Regions from separate parts of the Homo sapiens genome. Here regions 1 and 3 are each linked to region 2. Evidence: promoter capture Hi-C in 16 types of primary human blood cells and fetal thymus (Javierre and others, 2016). All regions are on one chromosome and are shown on one strand. Each heading gives the region's core, a stretch centred on a gene start or on the middle of the fragment in contact. The rest is flanking DNA. Distances are from core to core; before and after follow the strand shown. Region 1 has its middle 2.7 kb from the start of SEC23B. Region 2 holds the start of XRN2 (5'-3' exoribonuclease 2). Region 3 overlaps SMIM26 (small integral membrane protein 26).

Region 1 (3,627 bases), core at 1,102-3,601, 2.8 Mb before region 2:
GAGACTGAGGCAGGAGAATCGCTTGAACCCAGGGGCAGAGGTTGCAGTGAGCCAAGATCGTGCCACTGCACTCCAGCTTGGGCAACAGAGAGAGACTCCATCTCAAAATAATAATAATAAAATAAAATAAATAAAAGAATTTAGACTCAGGCTACAGATGATGATAATATGTCAGAAAAATTATGAAAGATTTTGAAATAGTCAAAAGAGGTTACTGGGTGAACTTTCTGTGGAGTGCTGTGCATTTTTAAAAGACTCTCTGGGGGCCGGGAGTGGTGGCTCATGCCTGTAATCCCAGCACTTTGGGAGGCCGAGGCGGGCAGATCATGAGGTCAAGAGATCGAGACCATTCTGGGCAACATGGTGAAACCCTGTCTCTACTAAAATTACAAAAATTAGCTAGGCATGGTCGTGTGCACCTATAGTCCCAGCTACTCGGGAGGCTGAGGCAGGAGAATCGCTTGAAGCCGGGATGTGGAGGTTGCAGTGAACTGAGATCGCGCCACTGCACTCCAGCCTGGCGACAGAGCGAGACTTCGTTTCAAAAACAAAAAATCCCCTGGGTCATTTGCCGTAGGAGGGATGTACCTCTGCCTTTGAGTATGCTATTTTACAACTCTGTAGAGATAGAAATTAACTTATAGAAGATAGTAATGCAAATGTTCCCTGCCCACAACAATGAAAACTATTCCTGTCCACAGCAATGCAAATCAATTTTGTGTGATAGAGAATATGTCACTATAAATCAAATTCTCCTTAGAACCAGTCTGAACATCCCTCCTGGTCGTAGGGATTAATTAAAATCAATGAATGAGTTAAGTAAGATCTTTGGCACATGTTCATTTTATATTTGCATGAAGGCCATAATTTTACCTTTTGAAACACTTTAACAGTTTTGAAGCTTTCACCAACATCCCAATGGATTCACCTGACAGAACCAGGTAAACCACATTACTGAAGAACACCCCATGGGGCTAAGCCCAAGCACATTTTTTCCTGGCTCCGGGAGTGAATACCAAGTAGCAATAGTACTACAGCGTTGCTGACTTTCTCCCTAGGTTTCTTTCTCCTCCTTACTGATTTTGGGTTTTGTTTCTGATTCGCCCACAGCTGGCGGATTTTTCCCCATGAATGGCGACACCAATTAGGAACTCGCGGGAAACCCCGTTGCTCCCTTTCCCCTGGCTGGCAGCGCGGAAGCCGCACGATGCCTGGAGTTCCTGTAAACCACGTGAACCAGCGGGACTTCGTCAGAGCTCTGGCAGCCTTTCTCAAAAAGTCCGGGAAGCTGAAAGTCCCCGAATGGGTGGACACCGTCAAGCTGGCCAAGCACAAAGAGCTTCCTCCCTACGTTGAGAACTGGTTCTACACACGAGCCGGTTCCACAGCGCGGCACCTGTACCTCCAGGGTGGCGCTGGGGTTGGCTCCATGACCAAGATCTATGGGGACGTCAGAGAAACGGCGTCATGCCCAGCCACTTCGGCCGAGGCTTCAAGAGTGTCCTCCGCCGGGTCCTCCAAGCCCTGGAGGGGCTGAAAATGGTGGAAAAGGACCAAGATGGGGGCCGCAAACTGACACCTCAGGGACAGAGAGATCTGGGCAGAATTGCCGGACAGGTGGCAGCTGCCAACAAGAAGCATTGGAACAAACCATGCTGGGTTAATACATTGCCTCATTCAGAAAAAAAAAAAAAAATTAGGAACTAGGTTTTACATTCTGAACATTTGGTGATCTCTTTAAGTGAATTAATAGTTTTTAGAGATCTATTCTCTTTTGGATAAGAGATGATGAAAAATCTGGTTTGTTAGTCTTTTTGTTTGTTTGCCTTTTTGTCTACTTATGAGTTCAAATCAGTTAAGACTTCCATGCCCATTGGGAAGGAGAACAGCTTTTTGTTATCTAGTCCACTGAATTTTTATGTTTCTGAATTTACTTTCGACCTGTGGCCAAAGTTGCAGAACCAAAGCTATATGCTATGTGTCTATGTGTCTTCCCGGCTGTAATCAACAAAGGCCTTCCCCTCTTGTTGTGGGAGTAAAAAAATCTTACTACCTTTGTAAAGTTTTAATAAGTTATATTATTTCATGTCTTAAAGGAGCTCTGTTATAATTCACTTATGGAAACAAACACATGTAAATCAATTATTTCTAAAATTCCAGAAAATAAGTAAATTAAACTTATGCATGCAAAATTTCTTAAAAATGCTGAAACCATCCTGACAGGGTTAACAAGATTACAAGCCAGCCTTTAGGCAGGTTAGTTAGGCACTGACCAGGGTGCATTGGTGCCCTTCAATTCACTTCCCTGCAGCTGCTAACTAACCAAAAGCCTTGCAGCACACTGATCACCTACTCCCTGATTGCTCCTATCCACAGAATCTCTGACACTAGCTCTTTGTACCCAGGAATTGCTTAAGGTATTTTTCAGATCCTGAATTCCCACAAAACAGCTGATGCCAAACTGTCTAGGGATCCCCACCAGGAAGGGCACAGTGGCTCACGCCTGTAATCTTAGCACTTTGGGAGGCCAAGGTGAGAGGATCGCCTGAAGCCCGGAGTTTGAGACTAGCCTGGGCAACAAAGTGAGACCCTGCTTTACAAAAAAAAAATTTTTTTAAATAAATAAATAAAGACCTCCACCAAGAAACAACACTGGAATGAAGTTTCTTCATCTCCCTGTCCCATGACTTCACCTCTCACTTCCTGACCAATCAGAAATCCCCACACTTTAGCCCATTGCCCCTCCAGACTTCTTAAAAATGCCATCTCTAATCTCTTGGGGAGGTGGATTTGAGGATTGCTCTTGTCTCCTCATTTGGCTGCCACTTGATTATGGAACTCTTTATCTGCTGCAACTCCTATTCTTTCTGTTACCGCACAATGGACAATCGAACCTGATGGTCCTATAACAATCTTTCTTACAGAAATTGCTAGTACAGAAAGAATCCAGGTTCAAATAATCAAGGCAAATCTTTGGCGAATAATATTAAGTTTTGGTTAAAAAAAATCCCAGCTATGTCTTTTCTCAGTGTTAAGTATTATACATGTGTACATTTTGAGTTTGTTTCCTTACCGAGAATAATTAATCTGAACTTCCTAAATTTATAAAAGTTTACTATTGATAAGCTAATATTAACATTACATTGTTTAAGATCCTGAAAAATGTGAATTTGTTCAACAAAACTGAATCATTCTCACATTTAACAGTAATTGTTTCTTTGTGCCTTAAACTATTAATAATTTCTATGATCTGTAGATAACTTAAAACTTAGTATTAAATTGAGCTAATTAATGGATACTTCTTGGATGCCTAGATATGTTCTTGCATAATTTTATGTTTACATCGTTTTGCTTATTTTTATATGCTACAGAGACTACAACTCTGAGTCACAGTAATGATGTGTTCATGTTTGCCACTTGTCAGCGTGTGTAAAAATGGTTGTGGTGGCTTTATACAGTTGTGTTCTATCGCGCCTTTTGCAGCAACATGGATGCATCTGGAGGCCATGATCCTAAAAGAATTAACGCAGAAGCAGAAAACCAAATACATGTTCTCACTTGAAAGTGGGAGCTAAGCATTGGGCACACATGGACACAAAGGTGACATTAATAGACGCTGGGGACTAC
Region 2 (3,257 bases), core at 758-3,257:
ACTTGGGAGGCTGAGGCAGGAGAATCGCTTGAACCTGGGAGGTGGAGGTTGCAGTGAACCGAGATGGTGCCACTGCACTCCAGCCTGGCAACAGAGTGAGACTCTGTCTTAAAAAAAAAAAAAAAAAAAAATTTGGCTCACAGAATCAAAGGACAGACTTAATCAAACTGCAGGAAGAGAGGGATTTAACTGGAACCAGGGAATTAACCCTGCTTCTCTCATTGCCTACTGGCAACAAGTCCCAATTCTTATCTTTTAGCGTTCACGCACTGGAAAGATGCAGTCTTAAATTTCTTATGGTTCAAAGCTCAAAAATGCTGGTAAGGCTGGGTGCAGTGGCTCACACCTGTAATCCCAGCACTCTGGAAGGCCGAGGTGGGCAGATCACCTGAGGTTAGGAGTTCGAGACCAGCCTGGCCAACATGGTGAAACCCTGTCTCAACTAAAAACACAAAAATCAGCGGGGTGTCATGGCAGGCGCCTCTAATCCCAGCTACTCGGGAGGCTGAGGCAGGAGAATCGCTTGAACCCGGGAGGTGGAGGTTGCAGTGAGCCTGGATCTTGCCACTGCACTCCAGCCTGGATGACTGAGACTCCGTCTGAAAAAACAAAAACAAAACAATAAACCCTCCCAACCCGCCAAAATGCTGGTTAAGGATTCTAAATGGCTCAACTTGGCCAGCTGTCTATCCCTGAACTGCCTATGGTGTACATGTTCCTATAACAGCACCTCCCAGGGAAACCAGAGGGGCTGCTTCCAGGTAAAAGGAGGAATTTCACCATAGACATAATACTTTGGAATAGTTTTGGCTATCCTTAAGTAAAACACGGGATGACTATTTCTCTAATTTCCACACTAGTAGTTTAAACAAAGTAGTCATCAGACCACAGAGGAGGGGGCAATAAATACTGCCTGTGAGGTAACTCGGCGAAATACTTTCACAGAGGCCTCATGAGGTGAGCATTTAGCATCGTGTGTGATGTGTGTCAAACCAAGAGGGGATTCAGGGAGACTTCCAGGCTTGAGCAAACGGACAAATATACCTCCTCTTCCAGACCTCTCCTTTCATATGGAAAAAATTCGTTTGGGACCACCAGAAAACAAAAGATAAAAGTATCGTGTTAGAACAAGGATGGATTAAAAATGACCTTTGCTTGAACTGAAACAGAAGCTATGTGCATAAGTGACTTAACTCCTCTGTAACTTGGCTTTCTTATCATTTACACGAGGGTGCTAACAGTACCCTCACAAGGTTCAAGTGAAGATTACATAGGACAATCCCTTAGTCAATGTCTTGGTACACTGTAAAGGCTCAGTAAATGCTGGAAAATCATATTAGCAACTATTTTATACCCGTAATTGTAGCTGGAAGATTGTATTGGATGCTAAATACCGGCTAGATTCCATTCGGTAACTATCATAATTATTTATTTGCATAACAATCAAATTATTGGTGCAAAGCAGCCATTATTACTGTAAAATGCTTTAAAATGCTCCTTTTGATAGTCCAGGTACGTACTGCAGCACAAAACTAGGAGAAACCAGGAAATGGAAGTAACGAGTAAGTTTGGATGCTTCGATTCTACCCTAGATTGAGACGGGTGAGCATAGAGGCAAAAAAAGACATTTTCTTCCAAACAAGAGGTGACCAAACGGGCAAGGGAGACCTCCTCCCGGGCATGCAGAGCGCAGCGATTCTGTGCCCAGGGAGCCGGAGGGCTGGGGCTGGGAGATCCCGGCGGAGCCCCGGCAGAGCAGTCGCCCGTGAGCCCCCGCAACTCAGACGCGCTCGGCCTCGCGCTCCGGGGCTGGGACCACCGAGGGCGAGCTGCAGCCTTCGCCACCCGGTCCGCCGCCGGACTCCGCCTCCCACAAACAGCCCGGCAAGGCCCTTTTCCGCCGCTCCCTCATCCAGCGAAGCCTCCTTCCCAGCTTCCCCGGCGGCGGCGCCGTGACGTCACTTCCGTTCTCCAGCGCGCACGTGGGAGGAAGTGCTGGTGCCCTCTGCCGCTGCTCCCGTCTCTTTGGTTACGCTCGTCAGCCGGTCGGCCGCCGCCTCCAGCCGTGTGCCGCTATGGGAGTCCCGGCGTTCTTCCGCTGGCTCAGCCGCAAGTACCCGTCCATCATAGTCAACTGCGTGGAAGAGAAGGTGAGGAGGCGCCAGGCGGCCGCCACACTCGAGCCCGGGCCCCCGGCACGTCTAGGCCGCGGCCCATGGGCTCCGCCGCCTGCCCCCGGGGAGCCTTGCCGGAGCTCGCGCCCTGCTGCCAGCCTCGCGAGCAGTCGCAGCCCCACACGCGATGGGACGCGGGCTGTGGGATTCAGCACCCCGGGGGCGAGGAATTCAGGACCCTCGGCGGGGCAAGGGCCTATAGGGTTCCGAACTCGCAGGAGGGTCGCTCCTCCCCTACTCGCTTTTTCCCGGCACCGGAAGGCCCCGCCCACTGCTTTGTTTCCTCTCCAGACCGCGCATTTTGGGTCTCGGAAGAGGTTCAGAGGCTGTTGTTGAGCAATGCATGCCAGGTCAGCTGAGCTAGCGGGTTATGGATGCACGGATTCGGAGGCCAGCTTTTTGACAACCTTGTAAAGGAATCCCTGGCGGCGACCTTTTCGTTGTTTACCAATTGTGCCGGAAAGGTTTTCTCCTAGTGTTCAGGACCATTTGTTGTTCTGGTTAGATTGGACGCTGAAAGCAGTATGTCAGGTCCAGGATGAGCGCTATAGAATTCTGAGAAGTTACCCTTCTCTGTGTGCCCTGACTACTGAACGGGGTGGGTGCTTGTTGAAAATTTCAAGATTACTGGATGTACTTGAGCAGTACAATTTTTGTTGTTAGTTAATACGTAAGTAGATTTTTGGCCATTATTGAGTTTTGTTTTTATTGTTTTCGTCATTCCATGCGGATTCGATTTTGTGCTCTTAATTAGAATTTCTGGATTGGAAACGTTCAGAGGCACATCACGCGTACCTCACTCCTTAGTTTTTGAAGGCAGTGCTTGCCTGTCACTGTGAACTTATTTCTGCTTTTTTTTTTTTTTTTAACTTTCTTGGCTTCTATCCAAGGAGGAACCAAAAGCCTTGTCTTAGTGACATTCCCACTATTTCTTGTTTTTTTCAAAAAGCAACTGCTAAATTGAATACTTGTTTCCTTTGTAAAATTTTAATCGAACTTTATTGAACTTTACTTGCACGTGGGTTAAACAAAAAGCAACAGTTCTTGCTCTACCCCTTCTCATCCCATTTCTCCACCTTTAAC
Region 3 (3,283 bases), core at 300-2,799, 2.7 Mb before region 2:
TTTCTTGAAGGAAACTATCTGCGTTTTCTTTTTTTTTTTTTTTTTTGAGACGGAGTCTTGCTGTGTCACCCAGGCTGGAGTGCAGTGGCTCGATCTCGGCTCACTGCAAGCTCCGCCTCCCAGGTTCATGCCATTCTCCTGCCTCAGCCTCCCGAGTAGCTGGGACTAAAGGCGCCTGCCACCATGTCTGGCTAATTTTTTGTGTTTTCAGTGGAGACAGGGTTTCACCGTGTTAGCCAGGATGGTCTCCATCTCCTGACCTTGTGATCCGCCTGCCTCAGCCTCCCAAAGTGCTGGGATTACAGGTGTGAGCCACGGTCCCCGGCCTACTATCTGCATTTTCAAGAGGTGTTCCTCTGTATTTGCATGAGTGAAAGATTGCTGTGAAATTTCACATAGAGCTTCCATAAGCTTGATTTCCTGAAACTAGTTAATGTAGATTTATATTTCTTTCATGTTGCTATTAGGCACAGCTTTAGTGGTCGCTTTAAGGTTAGTTTCAGCAAATCTCCATATTCACTTTGGGATTCACAGTAGCCCTTTGGGTACTACTGCGTACTGGGTAAGTATGATATAAATTTGATTGTAACTTCTGAATTAAACAGACTGGACCTATTCTTTAGGACCAGTGCACATACCCCTCATTCCTTCAGCAAGTGTGGATTACCCACCAACTGTGGCCAGTGCTATTCTAATGCTGGGAATGCAGTCAGGACGACATGATTGATGCTGAACCAGTTTCCTCAGTGGTCTCTTGGTTGCAGGCAACAAACACAAGTGAGCTTAAATCAAAAGTGGGTGTTTATAAAAAACGTGTATTGGTAGCTCAGAATTAAAGCAGAGAGTATGGGCCAGGAGCGGTGGCTCACGCCTGTACTCCCTGCACTTTGGGAGGCCGAGGGGCGGATCACAAGGTCAAGAGATCGAGACCGTCTTGGCCAGCATGGTGAAACCCTGTCTCTATTAAAAATACAAAAATTAGCTGGGCATGGCACCGCGCACCTGTAGTCCCAGCTACTTGGGAGGCTGAGGCAGGAGAATCGCTTGAATCTGGGAGGCGGAGGTTGCAGTGAGCTGAGATCGCACCACTGCACTCCAGCCTGTTGACAGCGAGATTCCATCTCAAAAAAAAAAAAAAAAAGCAGTATGTTGTCTTCAGAAGGCCTGACACTGGGACCAGAATGCAGGCAGCCACTTGTTGAGCCTGCCTGGGCTCTTGGCCTTGCTTTTCTTATTGCACACCAGCTGCTTTTCTCACCTTTCTGGAGTAATACAAATATCCCAAGAAGATACTACCTCCCATGTGCAGTGCCAAAGTCTGACCAGCCTCTCCTCAACCTGGTCTTTGGCTTCCACCCTTGCGAGAGACTCAGTTCAGTTTTTATCAGATCCCTGCCTATGGATTATAGAGTACTGCCTCAGTTATGAATAAAGTGGCATTTGTTTCTCATTTAGGTAGTGTTTTCCTGTTCATAGCTGTTGGGACCCTGTGAGTAGAGATGTGATGTGTGGTAGGACAGGAATTGGGCATTTCAGGGTTCCTCTACAGTACTATGACCTTCAGACCCTCATCTTGATTTCTCATTGGTGTCAGTTCCACCATTATGGGTGGCCTGAGCAGTGCTGTGGTGCAGTCAGCCTTAGTGACAAGGATTCCAAAATCACAAGTAACAGCTCCAGATGCTGGTAGCAGAGACTCAGCTTCCCAAGGGATATCAGGTCAAGCATGGATTCGTGCCAATTGGCTGTGTATTCCAGTGGACCATCTTGGTTGGCATCAAACTGATGAATGAGAAGCAGTGTACGACAGTAGATGGGGAAGGTGAGAAGCAAGTGAATCAGAAGTATGGGAGAAATGGGAACAGTAGCATGAACGTTTTGGAAGACATTTCCTAACATGAGGGCTTCCAGAGAAACAAAGGGCAAGGGCTGAGGGGCTGTGGCACTTGGCAGGTGAGAGTTGTTAATAGAGCACACCGAGGATAAACAGCTGAACTTCTACTCTCACCTGGCAGTCTACCCAGGATTCATACACTTGTGGGGCTTAAGGGGACATTTGGGTTAGCTTTCCTTGGGACTTGGCTGGGTTTCTTTGCTAGATCTAATTTATTCTCTTATTTCAGCCCAGCGTTCTCCTGAACTCAAGATCCATGTCCATCTAGCATTGCCACTTGGATATCTAGCCACCTCAGCTTTGTCCATAACTTAAATTGCTGTCATCACCCACAAGGCTGCTCTTCCTTCCGTTCTCTTTCTCAGAGAGTACTCAGTTCCTCAAATTAGGAACCTATCATTCTAGACTTCTCCCTCTTCTTGTTCCTTCTCCTTCCTCCAGCCACCAGGTCCCATCATTTCTACTGCAAATATTCCACTCCATTCCCACCTTCCCATTCCCTTTACCACTACCTTACTTAAATCCTCCATCCTCTTTGCTTATGTAGCCTCAACTTCCTACTCTCTTTGTCTCTACTTGGAGTCCCCTCCAATTGGTTTCTACAGTATTAGCCAGCATGACTTTTTTGAAATTAATTTTTATATTTTTAACAAAGCAACAAATGCATTAAAAAATTAAATAATGATCAAAAGTTTGTAACCAAAAAAACAGTTCCTGCTTTATCCCTCCTTGCTTTCAACTATTAGGTTTTTTTTTTTTTTTTTTTGGTATTTACGTCCACATTTCTAAATAATAAGCTTTTACTAATATCTTTAATTTATCAATCATGTATGGGATTTATTAATGAGGATTTGATCCTCCTTTCCAACTGACTAACCAATAAAACTATTGCATATTTTTGATGAATCAATAATTAATATTTACCCTGTTTTAACTATGCAAACATAGTTTGTTGATAAGCCAAGTAAGTGAGCTATAATTGTTTCTCATATAACTTTTCTTTCTGGAGTTAACTGCACTCTTTTTTTCATTTGCTTTGTTTTCTTGATGTTTCTCTCTCATTCTTTCCACATCCTCTAACCTCACAATATAATTTTCCACACAAACCTTTCCAGTTTCTCTTTTCTGTTTTTAAATCTTGGAGCTCTTTGTCTTCTTGGTACAATCTGGACTGATCACTCTAGTTCTGCTTTGCATCCATTTTTCTTTGCTATTTGCTTTGCCATCCTATAATGGATCTCTGTTTTCTCGATACTGTGTCCCCATAATTCTGAAAAAGGGTATATAATTTTTTGGTGATTTTTCATGTCTGAACATGTCTTTTTTTTTTTGAGACAGTTTCGCTCTGTCACCGAGGCTGGAGTGCAGTGGTGCGATCTCGGCTCACTG

What was found. Contacts are between HindIII fragments. The CHiCAGO score rates a contact against its expected background, and 5 or more counts as called.
Region 1: a contact is called between a fragment that was not itself captured here and the fragment with the promoter of XRN2 in region 2, in 1 of 17 cell types (total CD4 T cells). The highest score is 6.4, in total CD4 T cells.
Region 3: a contact is called between a fragment that was not itself captured here and the fragment with the promoter of XRN2 in region 2, in 1 of 17 cell types (total CD8 T cells). The highest score is 7.0, in total CD8 T cells.

What each region holds. Positions count from the first base shown.
Region 1 is chr20:18,503,426-18,507,052 of GRCh38, forward strand. It overlaps the pseudogene RPS19P1. Among named protein-coding and RNA genes, the nearest start is that of SEC23B, 2.7 kb to the right of the region's middle. The HindIII fragment of the contact is 2,905 bases long and covers 900-3,627 here.
Region 2 is chr20:21,301,324-21,304,580 of GRCh38, forward strand. XRN2 (5'-3' exoribonuclease 2) reads left to right here and starts at 2,008. Exons shown (of 30, transcript NM_012255.5): 1 at 2,008-2,150. The coding sequence starts at 2,076. RefSeq lists a silencer at 1,706-1,835 and an enhancer at 2,556-2,605. The HindIII fragment of the contact is 6,284 bases long and covers 1-3,257 here.
Region 3 is chr20:18,569,547-18,572,829 of GRCh38, forward strand. It overlaps SMIM26 (small integral membrane protein 26), which reads left to right. Exons shown (of 2, transcript NM_001348957.2): 2 at 1-14. Among named protein-coding and RNA genes, the nearest start is that of SMIM26, 3.8 kb to the left of the region's middle. The HindIII fragment of the contact is 2,280 bases long and covers 410-2,689 here.